Regions from separate parts of the Homo sapiens genome. Here all the other regions are linked to region 2. The links are contacts of gene promoters, found by promoter capture Hi-C in blood cells and fetal thymus (Javierre and others, 2016). All regions are on one chromosome and are shown on one strand. Each heading gives the region's core, a stretch centred on a gene start or on the middle of the fragment in contact. The rest is flanking DNA. Distances are from core to core; before and after follow the strand shown. Region 1 has its middle 84 kb from the start of OAT. Region 2 holds the start of CHST15 (carbohydrate sulfotransferase 15). Region 3 has its middle 120 kb from the start of OAT.

Region 1 (4,334 bases), core at 48-2,547, 240 kb before region 2:
CTTTACCTTTCTATTAAAATTTTGGAATCAGCTTGCTTATATATATAAAGATCCTCGGCCCGGCACGGTGGCTCACGCCTGTAATCTCAGCACTTTGGGAGGCCAAGGCAGGTGGATCAAGAGGTCAGGAGATTGAGACCATCCTGGCTAATGTGGTGAAACCTCGTCTCTACTAAAAATACCAAAACTTAGCCAGGCATGGTGGCACACGCCTGTAGTCCCAGCTACTTGGGAGGCTGAGGCAGGAGAATCGCTTGAATCCGGGAGGCAGAGGTTGCAGTGAGCCGAGATCGCACCCCTGCACTCCAGCCTGGGCGACAGAGCGAGACTCTGCCTCACAAAAAAGAAAAAGAAGATAAAGATCCTTGTGGGATTTTTGATTAGAATTGTGTTAAATCTACATGTCTATCTGAGAATTGTCTTCTTACTTTTGTGAGTCTTCCCATTCATGACCATGGTATACCTCTTGATTTATAGGGAGGTGCCAGCTCTCTTGGTAACTAATAGAGTGAGAACTTACTTATCCCCACTCTTGTGTACCCCCCATTCCCGCAGGGATGTCATTAATCTATTCGTGAGGGATCTGTCCCCATGACCCAGTCACCTCCCATTAGGCCTCACCTCCAACATTGAGGATCAAATTTCAACATGAGGTTGGCTTCTTGGATTTGTTCCATCAGCTTTTGTGGTTTCCAGCATGCAGATTCTCTACATGTTTTGTTTTATTTATGCTTAGTATTTTTTTTTTGGAGATTTAGTAAAATGTATTGGTTTTTCAAATTTTGGTTTATAATTGTTCAATACTGGTATACACATGCATATGTGATTGATTTTTGTGGTGTTGATCTTTTCTCTTTCAACCTTGCTAAAATCACTAGTTTTATCAGACTTTATTTTTAGATTACTTGGGATTTTCTATGTAGATAATTATGTCATCTCTAAATGGGCAGTTTCGTTTCTTCCTTTCCAATATGTATGCCTTCGAATTATTTTTCTTTCCTTATTGCACTGGCTAGGACTTCCTGGATGATGTTGGATTGGAGTGGTGAGAGTGGACACCTTTGTCTTGCTATTTATTTGGGAGGAAGCATTCGGTATTTAACGATTAAGTAGGATGTTAGGAATAGTTTTTTTGTATTTGCCCTTCATTGAGTTAAGGAGTTTCCTTCTATTTCTAGTTTGCTAAGAGTTTTTTTCTAAGACATCATAAATGGATTTGAATTTTGTCAAATGCTTTTTCTGCACTAATAGTTATTGTATGAACTTGCTAGGGCTGCCATAACAAAGTACTACAGATTAGATGACTTAAACAACAGAAACTTATTTTCTCACAATCCTGAAGCCTAGAAGTCTGAGATCAAGCTCAACAGGGCTGTTTCCTCTGAAGCCTGGCTCCTCAGTTTGCAGATGGCCATGCTCTCCCTGTATCTCCACGTGGTCTTTCCTCTTCGTGTATCTGTGTTTGCTATGGTCTGTGTTTGCGTCCTCCAAAATTTCTATGTTAAAATCCTAACCTCCAAAGTGATGGTGTTAGGAGGTTGGGCCTTTGGAGACCTCATGAATGAGATTAGCGTCCTTATAAGAAGAGGCCAAGGCTGGGTGTGGTGGCTCATGTCTGTAATCCCAGCACTTTTGGAGACCAAGGTGGGAGGATGTCTTGAGCTCAGGAGTTCAAGACCAGCCTGGGCAACATAGCAAGATCCCGTCTCTAAAAAAAAAAATTAGCTGGGGGCGTGGTGCATGCCTGTGGGCCCAGCTACTTGGAAGGCTGAGGTGGGAGGATGGCTTGAGCCTGACAGGTCGAGGCTGCAGTGAGCTATGATCATACCCCTGCCTTCCAGTCTGGGTGACAGAGTGGAACCTTGTCTCTGAGAAAAAAAAAAAAAAAAAAAAAAAAGAGGCCAAAGCTAACTTGCCCTCTTTCCACCATGTGAGGTTACAGGGAGAGGTCAGCTGTCTGCAGCCTGGAATAGGGCCCTCACCAGAACCCAACCATGAGTTCTGGCACCCTGATCTCTGACTTCCAGTCTTCAGAACTGAGCTATGAATGTTTGTCATTTAAGTTACCCAGTCTGCGGTTATTTGTTATACTGGCCTGAACTAAGACAGTCCAAATTTCTTCTTCCTTTTGATATGGCTTGGCTGTGTCCCCACCCAAATCTCGTCTTGAATTGTAGTCCTCATAATCCCCACTTGTGGTGAGAGGGATCCGGTGGGAGGTAATCAAATCATAGGGGTGGTTTGCTCCATTCTATTCTCATGACAGTAAGTTTTCTCATGAGATATGGTGGTTTTATAAGGGGTTTCCCCCTTCACTTGTCTATCATTCTTCTCTCTTGCCGCCATGTGAAGAAGGACGTGTTTGCCTCCCCTTCTGCCATGGTTGTGAATTTCCTGAGGCCTCCCCAGCCATGAAGAACTGTGAGTCAATTAAACCTCTTTCCTTTATAAATGAGCCAGTCTTGGGTATGTCTTTATTAGCAGCATGAGAATGGATAAATATACTTTCCAGCAGGACAACAGTCATATTAGAATAGGGCCCACCATAATGATGTCATTTAACTTAGTTACCTCTTTAAAGACCCTGTTTCTGAATACATTCACATCCTGAGGTGCTGGGGGTTGAGACTTAAACATGTGATTTTTTTGGGGTAAATAATTCAGCCCCATAATAGATATGATCATGTAATTTTTCTTGTTTAAACCATTAATGTGGTGGATTGCACTGATTTATTTCCAAATATTGAAGCAGGCTTTCATTCCCAGGATAAACTGTACTTTTACTTATGACATATAATTCTTTTTATATTGCTAGATTTGATGTGATAATGTTTTCTTGAGAACTTTTGCATCTCTCTTTATGAGGGATTTCGGTTTGTAGTTTTCTTGTATTGTCTGGTTTTGATTGCAGAGTAATGCTGGCAGCATAAAAGGAGTTGGGAAATGTTCTCTCTGCTTTTATCTCTTGGAAGTGATTGTGTAGAATTGGGGTTATTTTTTAAATATTTTCTAGAACTCACCAGTGAAACCCTTTATGCTTGGAAATTTCTTTTTTGGAAGGTTTTTTAAAAATTATACATTCAATTTCCTTAGTAGTTACAGGACTATTCAGATTATGATTTCATCTCAGATGAGTTTTAGTAGTTCCTTTTCTTAGGAATTGTTACATTTCATCATTGTCAATTTTATGTGCATAGAGTTGTTCAGAGCATTCCTTTATATTATCCTTTTAATGCCTGCAGGGTTTGCAACGATATCCCTTCTTTCATTCCTGATATGGGTAATTTGTGTCTTTTCTCTTTTTTAATTTATCAGTCTTGCTAGAGGTTTATCAATTTTATTGATATTTTCAAAGAACAACTTTTGGTTTCACTGATCTTTCTTTCTTGCTTTTATGCTTACAGTTTCACTGATTTCTGCTGTCTCTATGATTTTTGCCTTCTGCTTGCATTGAGTTTATTTTGTCATTTTTTTCTACTTCATAAAATGGAGGTTTAAGTTATTGATTTGATACCTTTCTAATAAATGATTTAATGTCTCTTTCTGCTCCATCTTCCATTATTTCTTCCATTATTTCATGGGTCTGTTTCCATCACATGATATTTCTTTTGACCCAGGAGCACATTTTCCTGCTTCTTTGTATATGTAATAATTTTTTGTTGGAGAAAGGACTTTGCAATTTTATACTGAGTGCTGGATTCTGGTGTATTTTTTTAACCAGGGTTGAACTTTTTCGGAAGGGTGGTTAAGTTACTTGTTAAGTTAAATTTGATTCTTTGGGGTTTGTTTTTAGGATTTGTAGGTGGTTATCAAATATCCTTTATCCTAAGGCTAATTTAGCCTCTGCTTCGAAGGCCCAACCCTTCTGCATTCTCTTCCGAATGCACTCTGCAGATCAAGCTCCCTGCAGACAGAGTCCAGAGACTCTGTGTGTTGAATGAGTCCCTGCACTCTGTCTGCAGTGAGTATGATCAATTCCTGGACCTGTGTGAGCTTTTGAAATTGTTCATCTCACAGTTCTCCAGTAATGGCCCTTTCCCTGGAAGCTGTTCTTGTTGGCCTTGTGTGAGTATCACTCTATTCATGCCTAGATTGGTATTCAGTCCAAGACTCAAGGGGACCCCTATACAAATTCCTACTTTGTTTCTCTCTAATGCTCCCTTCTTTTGAGTACTCTCCTCATGAATCCCAGTTACTCTGACTTTCCTGAACACCAACCTCTGCCTCTTCTACTCCATGAAATTGTAGGTCTCTAGGTTCTTGCACCACAGACCAGAAATGATCTCTAAGCATAAAGCCTGAGCAATAGTGAGGTTTGCCTTATTCACTTCCCC
Region 2 (4,297 bases), core at 65-2,564:
TAAGAGGCATTATTTGCAGGAAAACAAGACAGGATTTTAAAGAACTCCCCTCTCATCCCGGTTTCCCATCTGCAGTTATAATCCTCTGATGGTGACCTCTGCATTAGTTGCCATGGGTGCTGAGCAGAAGTTTATGACCTCAGGGTGGACTGTAGCTTCAGGGGGGCGAGATGAAGCCTCCGGCAATAAAGAGATAATGGGGAGAAGCCACTGTCAGGAATGACCCTTCGGTGGCATGTAGTCTACAGTTAACGGAGCACTTTCATTTCCACTTCTGGTTGCTTCGAGGAAGAGGGTGCTGGACTCTGGCCACGGGGACACAGGCCGGCAAGAGACTGCAGATTCTTTTTGTCCCTTGGACCTCAGTTTCCTGAGAGGCTGGGCTTGGTGCTCCAAGCGCCCTCTGAGCGAATCTGCCAGAATTTCATGTGTCTTTTCTTTAACTGATGGCATCTTCAGCCCAGAGTCAGTGGAGTCGGCCACTGGTGCCGCTTTCTTGCCCTCGGGCTGTCCAGGTGGTTCCCTGGGGCAGCCGACTCCAGGCCACTGCGGCAGGCCGTGGCGATCGGGGTCCTGCAGAGCTTTACCTCCCCCGCGGAAGCAAAACACGCCGGGCCAAAGAGCCGGGCCAGCCTTCCCGGGATGCAAAAATACAACAGAGGGCGCCGAACTCACCAGCGCTGTGGCCTTGAATATTAATGTACGGGCTGGCTCCAGACCGCCAAGTTCCTTAAAGATGTCTCTGGCGGCCGGGCGCGGTGGCTTACGCCTGTAATCCCAGCACTTTGGGTTGGGGGGGCGGACGGATCATCTGAGGTCGGGAGTTCGAGACCAGCCTGACCAACATGGAGAAACCCCGTCTGTACTAAAAATATAAAATTAGCCTATTTTGCGTGGTGGCGCATGCCTGTAATCCCGGCTACTCGGGAGGCTGAGGCAGGAGACTCTCTTGAACCCGGGAGGCTGAGGCAGGAGACTCTCTTGAACCCGGGAGGCGGAAGTTGCAGTGAGCCGAGATCGCGCCATTGCATTCCAGCCTGGGCAACAAGAGCGAAACTCTGTCTTTAAAAAAAAGAAGTATCTGGCAAGGTGTCACTGCCAGATTTCAGGGGTTTCGATGTGCTTTTATTTGGAATCACCGCAACACACAAGCAGTGTTGACTCGGAGGGGGAGGGGGCAGGGGCCAAACCCACCGCTCGGCGCACACGCCTTGATCTCACATTCCAGACTGGAGCTGATGTGTGTCAGCGCGACATGGGGCGGGGGGAGGGTTCTCCTCGGATGTTTCATTCGCCGTCTGCACGTCACTCCCAAACTTTTCCTCCCAGCGCTCGGGGAGTCAGGTTGACGCGCCCTGGATGCGGGGCTAGAGGCTCGGGGCTGGGCGCGCTCCCGCGGAGCCGGAGCCGCAGAGGCTCCCGGGCTGGACTCAGGCTTCTCAGGTACAAGTTAGGTGCCAGACGCCGAGGTGGGGTCGGCGAGGAGCGGCGGTAGGAGGTCTGGCCCTGGGCTCGGGGCTCCGGCGCCCCTCCGCGGGTTCGGGCCAGGCAGCGCCGGCGGCGGCCGGGGCTGGGCGTAGGGAGTCCGGGCCGGCGGAGGCGGCGCGCAGCCTCACTCCCCGCGGCGCTCCCGGCGCGGTGGTGGCGGTGGCGGTGGCGGCGGCGGCCCAGGCAGACAATGAACTTGCGAGCTCGACGAGCCGAGGCAGGTTTGGGCCCCGGGCTCCTTGGCCCGGCCTCCCCGAGGCTTCAGCGATCCCCAGCGGGAGGAGTCCCTTCGCCATTGGTCCTGGCCGCGCTCCGGGCGCCCTGCGCGCTTGAGGACCCCGCGGGAAGGGTTACCCAGCGGCGACACACGCCCCCTCCCTCGCAGAGAGGACGCGGCCGGAGCGAGGGGACAGGGGACCGAGCAGTGGCGTGGTGGCGCCGTGGATAGCCGGAGGCCGGCGGGGGGCGCAAGCCGCGTGGAACGCACCGGCGGGCTGTCCGGGAGAAGGAGCCCAGTAGTCGGAATCGGGGCGCCCCTGCACCGCCCAGCTCTGGGAGCCGCAGGCGGGGGACCGACCGACGGACAGACCAGTGCTTTCACGGTGTGAGCGCGCGTCGTTTGGCGGTAGGGGACGGGGATTCCCCCCAGCCTTGCGCTCCGCCCCCACACCCCTATCGCACTTTGGGGAAGTTTCCAGGCGCGGCCCGGGGCAGGTAAGTGGGCATCCGCCACTCTCTCCCCGGTTGCGAGCTCGGATGCGCTTCCAGAACCCTGGCTCTAGCCTTGCGGCGGTTCCGGGCGGGGAGGCCAGAGCTCTCCCGCGCCTAAGCCCGTGGGACCCGGTTCAGGGAAGGGGGATGGCGGGGGCGGGCCTGGGAAGAGATAGGGGAGCGGCTGAGCCCCGAGCGGTGTGAACTTTTGCTCCCCGCCCCCTCCTCCTTCCTCCTCCCCGCCCCGCCCCCACTGCTGTCCCCTCCCTGCGCCCCGCCGCGTCTCGGGAGGCGGCGTGACTCGGGAGTTGCCGGCGCTTCCCGGCGGTGGCGGCGTCTCTGGCCGGCCTTGGTGCGGCGAGCCGAGCGAGGCAGCTCTGAGCCGCGCGGTGAGGCCAGAGGCGGGGAGCCGGGGCTGCGGGGCGGCGAAGCTGGGGAGCCGGATGGCAGCGGCCGGGGCGCGGAGGCGACGCTGGCGGTGGAGATGTAATGCGAGTCTGTTGGGTTGTGTGTGCCGGGAGATAGGACGCGGTGGCTGTGGGTGGCTGGGTGGCGGGCTGTGGCGCAATTGGCCCCCTGGGATGGCAGGATAGAGGCGCCGGGGCGAAGGGAACCTTGCCTTTGGGAAAATGAATGAAGAGCCGTGGAAGCACCTTCCCGACTCCTCCAGGCAACCGATGGGCCGGCGTGCGCGCGAGTGTGTGCGTGTTGAGGCTTCGGAGCCGCCCGGGTCCTGGGCACAGCTGCTTGACCTCCCCGTCGCTGTCCGGGTGCCCACGTTCCCGCCCGCCCTGCGCCCGGGGCCGGCCGGCGCGGCTGGGACGGCGGGTATAGAGGAGGAAGGCTGGGGCTGGGTTGCCGGCTGCTGGCGGCTGGAGGTCCGCGCCCAGTGTAGGGAAGTCTTCGAAGGAGGCTGCCAGGCTGGAGGCTGGGACCAGCTCCTGGGGGCGGGGGCCCTTCTTCGTCTGCCTGCGTGCGCGGAGCCGCTGTGACAGCTGGGCGCCTTCGCCTTGTTCACGTTGGTTAAGTTAATTGTACCGAGTTCTCGGGAATGAAGTGTGGCTCCGGGATGCCCCGCAGAGGGATGTGACAAGCCGGTCAGTGAGGCTGAGCAAAGGGGCTAACCTTGCCTCTGGGCGCCCTAGCAGTGCCCCCAGCCCCTCTTTATCAGCTGCAATTCCTGAGTGTTGTGGGATGCCTCGGTGGGTTAGGGTAGCCACCCAGCGTTGGGGCAGAAAGGCCTCGGAGGGCATCTGCACCCCCGAGGGGCCCTGAAGTAAACTGAGGCCTAGAGATTTGCCCAGCGTTTCTCCTGGACCCTCCTTGGACCTTCCTGGACCATTATCCATCCCCCGCTTTCCTGCTTCTCCTCCCAGGACCGGCAACCTTGCAAAATCAGGAACCCTCCCTTCCAGAACATGGCACTTACTAATTTTACAAACTGAATGTTGAACTAGGATCTCTTGATTGATACATAAAGACATACATAGATCATATATGATTTTATTCAAAGTAGTATAGGAATAAAAATGCCTTCTAAGTAGGTAGGTTTTTGCAAACAAGTTTTTCTCCCCCAAGTTCCTGAGAAACTGTCAGAAGATTTTCTTTCTTGCCACCTCCTAGATGGGCACACAGAGCTGGTGAGGTAAAGTGGCTTGTTATGGCCTTCCTGTGGGCACATAGGTGAGCTGGAGGTGGAGCTGCAGGTCTGGGCTTCCCTCCAAAGTCCAGCTCCGGAGGAGAGCCAGCTCAGGAGCCCTCTGCAGAAGTCCAACCCTGTCTTTGCGGCTCTCTCCTCTGGGCTTTGGATGATTGCAGTGAGCTGGCTTGTAGGTGAAGCATGCAGGGGTAATTCATCCAGGATATTGTCCAGGGGGGTGGCAGGCAGGTCGGCCCACAGTGGTCACATGTGTGCCTTGCTTTTCTTGGATGATCAAAGCTCGCCATGTCTGAGCCACTGTCCTGGCCAGGGACCCAGCACGGTCACCGTGGCTGCTGTGAGGGCTGCAGTTTCCTTCCACACCTTTGTCATCCCTGGTTGCTGCTGCCCCTGGCCAGGAAAAGTGAGATATCAGAAACATTTGATTTTTCACATGCC
Region 3 (4,362 bases), core at 506-3,005, 210 kb before region 2:
AGCTCTAGGCCTCCCAGAGGGTTGATGGTTATAGGAGCAGCCAGGCCTGGACCAATGTGACTGAAGCTAGCTCTGACTGGAAGGTTCCATTTGTGCCCAGACCTTTGCATCCTGACAATATCCCCACTCCACGAGCACAGGGCATCTTTTCACTTTGTGCTCCAGGGCCCCAGGGAGCCCACTTAGCCACGTGCCAGTCCAGCCTGGGAGCGTGGGTGAGCCCAACCCCCTGGAATCTGCCAGCACTGACCGCGGGAGCTGGCTCTGACTCGCATTGGATGGGGTGGGGCAATCTCGGGGCGTTCTGTGCATCCCTTCCAGAGGAACCAGGTCCCAGTGACCCACAGCGGCAGCTTCAATGAAGCCTTTGGGTATTATTGGCTTTTTCTCTTTCCTTTTCTTACTCTTTCACTCACTCCCTCCTGCTTCCTGGGCTCACTTTCCCCTCACCCCAAATCACCTGCACCAAGTCCTTGTCTGAGGCTCTGCTTCTGGGGGAGCCCAAACTTAGGCAAGGGTTTACTGCATGATCTTGGCTACACAGAGACCAGCCAGGACCTATAATAATGGGGCTCACGTTGGCCATTTGAGCTCTTCCTGGAAAGAACTGTGAGGGTCTCCACAGCCACTATGCCACTCAAACTGCAGTGAGAGCTGGTGTCTGGGACAGCCACCGAGTGTGCCTGTCACAACTTGCTGGGGCATCACTGACCAGGTGCATCGGTGATGGTAGCTAATTTTACAATGTCCTCTTAGTAATAAAACAGACCGATGTATTATGAGTGAAACATAAAGTCTGTATGAGCTTTGAAGATCAAACAAGAGATGCTGCAGAAATTTCAGATTTTCAGAGGGCTGCTCTGAGTTCCTGCTCCTGAGGGCCCCAGGGGATTCAAGTTTACCGTCCTCTGCCAGGGGCTCCCCTAGGACCAGAGGAAGGGCTCTGAATGGTCACTAATCCTGACGAGGACTTGAGTTTGCAGAGCACGTCCGTATTTTTGTCTCACAGCACCTTGTAGTACCCAGTGAGGTCAGTAAGCAGCATCGGTTACTTTTATCTTCATCTCAGGCAGAGAGAGGTTCAACACTGTCTGAAGACTCAGCCAGCCAGGGCTCACCCAGGTGGCACCCAGGTCTTCAGACAAGGTCTGTTACTGAAACACCAGGGGTTCAGTCTAGGTTCTGCTGCTCACCACACAGAAAGCCAATCACAGAGACAATGATTGTTGCCAAGGAAGAAGGCTTTAATCGGGTGCTGCGGCTGAGGAGTTGGGAGATCAGTCTCAAATCCATCTCCCTAACTGACTAAAATAAGGGGTTTATATAGCAGGGAAGAAATGTAACTACGTATGGGAAAACAGGAACTCAGGAGGGCTAAGTAGGGAATCATGATGAACGAGGGGCCTGGTGTTTCATTGTCTGGATCTGGTGAGTTTCAAGCTTTAAGCCCAGAAAAGTCAATTTCAATTTCTATGTTTATTAAACAACAACAACAACAACAACTGTCTGTGGGCCTATTGGGTCAGTTTCACTCCTTTCAGAATGCCACACGGCTGCCTGGGGGGAGGGGGAATTTGGGCTTGGCCAAGACTGACCAGCTGGCTACGTTAGGAAGTTTGTGATTTGCTGGAGAGCTACGCATCCACAGTCCTGACCCGGGATGAGAGCTGATCGTGTCTGTACTGGGAGAAGGCTGCTCTCAGACATTTGTTCAAGGGCAGCATCACCTGAGTGCCAAGGGGTTGGTCGTGAATGCCACTATGTCACCTTTTGCCAGAGGAATGTTCTGTCTTCCTTTCTCTCATCTGGACCAGGACTTGTGTGTGCACTGGGGAAGGAGTCTTGTGTCCTCCACAGCTGGCCCAGCCTGTGTCACCCTGGCCTAGCACCTTGTTCTTTGGCTCAAGTACCCTGGGCCCACGGATTGCTTCAGGGGCCTGGGAAGAGGAGGAGGAAGCAGCAGAGGTGGCGACTGGGATGGTTCTAGAAGCAGACTCATTGGTTTTGGAAGGCTGCACACGGACTTGCTCCCCTTTGGGGATTGGGGAAATGAGGTGAATTTCAAGCTTTAAGACCAGAAAAGTCTTAATCCATTGCTCACCTAGAAATCCATTGCTGAGAAATCAGTTGCTGAGTTGGTTCAGGCTATGTGGGGAGGGGGCCGTCATCCCGCAAGGGGACCTGAATTTGTTCCTCCCTCTGGCCTTGGTGGGTGGCAGGAGGCTGGTGCCTTGGTTCTGCCTGGGCAGATGCAAGCCTGGGATGTGCCTGCTTCCTCTCTGCCCCACCTCCCTTGGACTGTGCACGTTTCCATTGATTACAAAAACAGTTGCAGCAGGTTCTGGCAGGGCTGGTGCTGGTGGGAAGAAAACTGTTTCCAAGTCTCTAGAATGTTGTCAGCACATGAACCATGACCGCACCCCTGCTGGGAGAAGAGTCAGTTTCTGGGGATTATATTAATAATAAATGGCAGCCATTATCAACCCTGATCCTGCAAAGGTGATAATAACAGCTATGGCGAACACCGTGATTGGTCCTTCTCAGCACTGGCTCATCAGTGATCTTATGATGGGCTCTGTTATTGGTTCTGTTCCACAGATGCAAAAACCCGGCTTAACAACGTAAGTGACTTGCTCTGAGTGGCACAGTCACTAAGTCGCAGCCCAGGGTCCTGCGGCTCGATCTCTGCGCCATCACCTGCCACATCCTGAGCCCTTTTTCTGTGCCAGGCCTGGCATTCAGACTCCACAGGCATCATTTAATTTTCATCTCATAATGACTTTCAGGGAAGGTACTGTTGTTGACATCATCTTCATTGGGGCTCAGAGAGGTGCAGTGATTTGCCCTAGTCACACAGCTAGTGGTGGACCAGGCTCTAGACCCCTAGCCTGTCTGACCCCAGAGCCCTTGTTCTTTATCACTGAGCTGTAGCTCTTGCAACCAAGAGGCCAAAGCAGCTGAGATCACGAGACAGGGGTGATGCATAGGCCATGGTTCCACCTTCCACCCTCCACTGGTCACTGGGCAGAGGCCATGTGCCCTGTGAGGGCTGCTCAGGCAAGGCTGAGGCATGCCTCTTGGGTGGCAGTGCACAGAGCAGCACTGGGCACCTGACATGCCGGTCCATGTGTGGCTGGGAGCTGTGACATGCCAGTCCATGTGTGGCTGGGAGCTGTGACATGCCGGTCCATGTGTGGCTGGGAGCTGGCCATGAGCCTCTGGGTTAATGTTCAGTTGAAAAGCCTCCAAAAAAAAGCACAATAACCTGGACAAGCTGACTAATAAGGATTTTTTCTATAATCGTAACATCATCATCCTTCCAACAATGGATGGATTCATTCGTTACGTACTAGCATTTTTCTGTTCAACTAGAAAACCACTGCACACCTAGAAAATACAGAGATAGCCATGAGCCTTCAGGGTCATTTGCTTTGCACATCAAGGCATTTTTTTATTCATCAAATGTCCTTTGCATGGGGGCTGGGGTCCCCATACCTGCCCTCAAGGAACTCATAGTTTACTGGGGGAGATGCAGAAGTATTTTGGGTAGCTGTAGAACTAGGATTATATTGATCGATTGGATGATTAATTGAGTCAATGAATATTTTTTGAGCATCTACGATGTGCATGAAATTGATATTTAAATTATTCATCTTTTGCATTCATTTATTAGTTTTAGAATTGGAAAGTGGCTTGCGATATGTATTCTATAAAAACCCAACAGATTTGTGACCTTGTTCACTTCTGGGATAAAGATGATCTTTCCTAAACCAGAAATTAGATGGAGGCTTTGAGTCATGCTCCATAATATCATATAAAAATATGAGAGCTTGACTCTACCCCTGCGTTTCTCCCACCGTGTGCATGTTAGGATCATCTGGGTAGACTTCATAAAGTGGCCATGCCATTGTCTTGGCCTCACGCCTGCAGACTCTGATTTAATAAGTTTGAAGTGGGGCTCTGGGGAAAAGGGGTGCTTTGAAACATCCCCAGGTGGTTTTCTGTGCTGGGCTCTGTGAACCATTGCTCTATACCAGCTGTTTTCTTTTTTTTTTGTTGTTGTCATTGTCGTTTTTGTTTTTGAGACAGAGTCTTGCTTTGTTACCCAGGTGAAGGGCAGTGGCATGATCTCTGCTCACTGCAACCTCCGCCTCCCAGATTCTCATGCCTCAGCCTCCCGAGTAGCTGGGATTACAGGCGTAGCCATGACGCCTGGCTAATTTTTGTATTTTTAGTAGAGACGGGGTTTCACCATGTTGGCCAGGCTGGTCTCAAACTCCCGACCTCAAGTGATCTGCCTGCTTCGGCCTCCCAAAGTGCTGAGATTACAGGCGTGAGCCACCACACCCGGCCAATACCAGC

What was found. The method cuts DNA at HindIII sites, captures the fragments that hold promoters and counts their contacts. A CHiCAGO score of 5 or more calls a contact.
Region 1: a contact is called between a fragment that was not itself captured here and the fragment with the promoter of CHST15 in region 2, in 2 of 17 cell types (monocytes and neutrophils). The highest score is 6.1, in monocytes.
Region 3: a fragment that was not itself captured here is called in contact with the fragment with the promoter of CHST15 in region 2 in 2 of 17 cell types (neutrophils and M0 macrophages); the score reaches 7.6 in neutrophils.

The regions. Positions count from the first base shown.
Region 1 is chr10:124,332,707-124,337,040 of GRCh38, reverse strand. No RefSeq gene overlaps it. Among named protein-coding and RNA genes, the nearest start is that of OAT, 84 kb to the left of the region's middle. The HindIII fragment of the contact is 8,214 bases long and covers 1-4,334 here.
Region 2 is chr10:124,090,615-124,094,911 of GRCh38, reverse strand. CHST15 (carbohydrate sulfotransferase 15) reads left to right here and starts at 1,314. Exons shown (of 8, transcript NM_001270764.2): 1 at 1,314-1,443. The HindIII fragment of the contact is 12,111 bases long and covers 1-4,297 here.
Region 3 is chr10:124,297,813-124,302,174 of GRCh38, reverse strand. No RefSeq gene overlaps it. Among named protein-coding and RNA genes, the nearest start is that of OAT, 120 kb to the left of the region's middle. The HindIII fragment of the contact is 626 bases long and covers 1,443-2,068 here.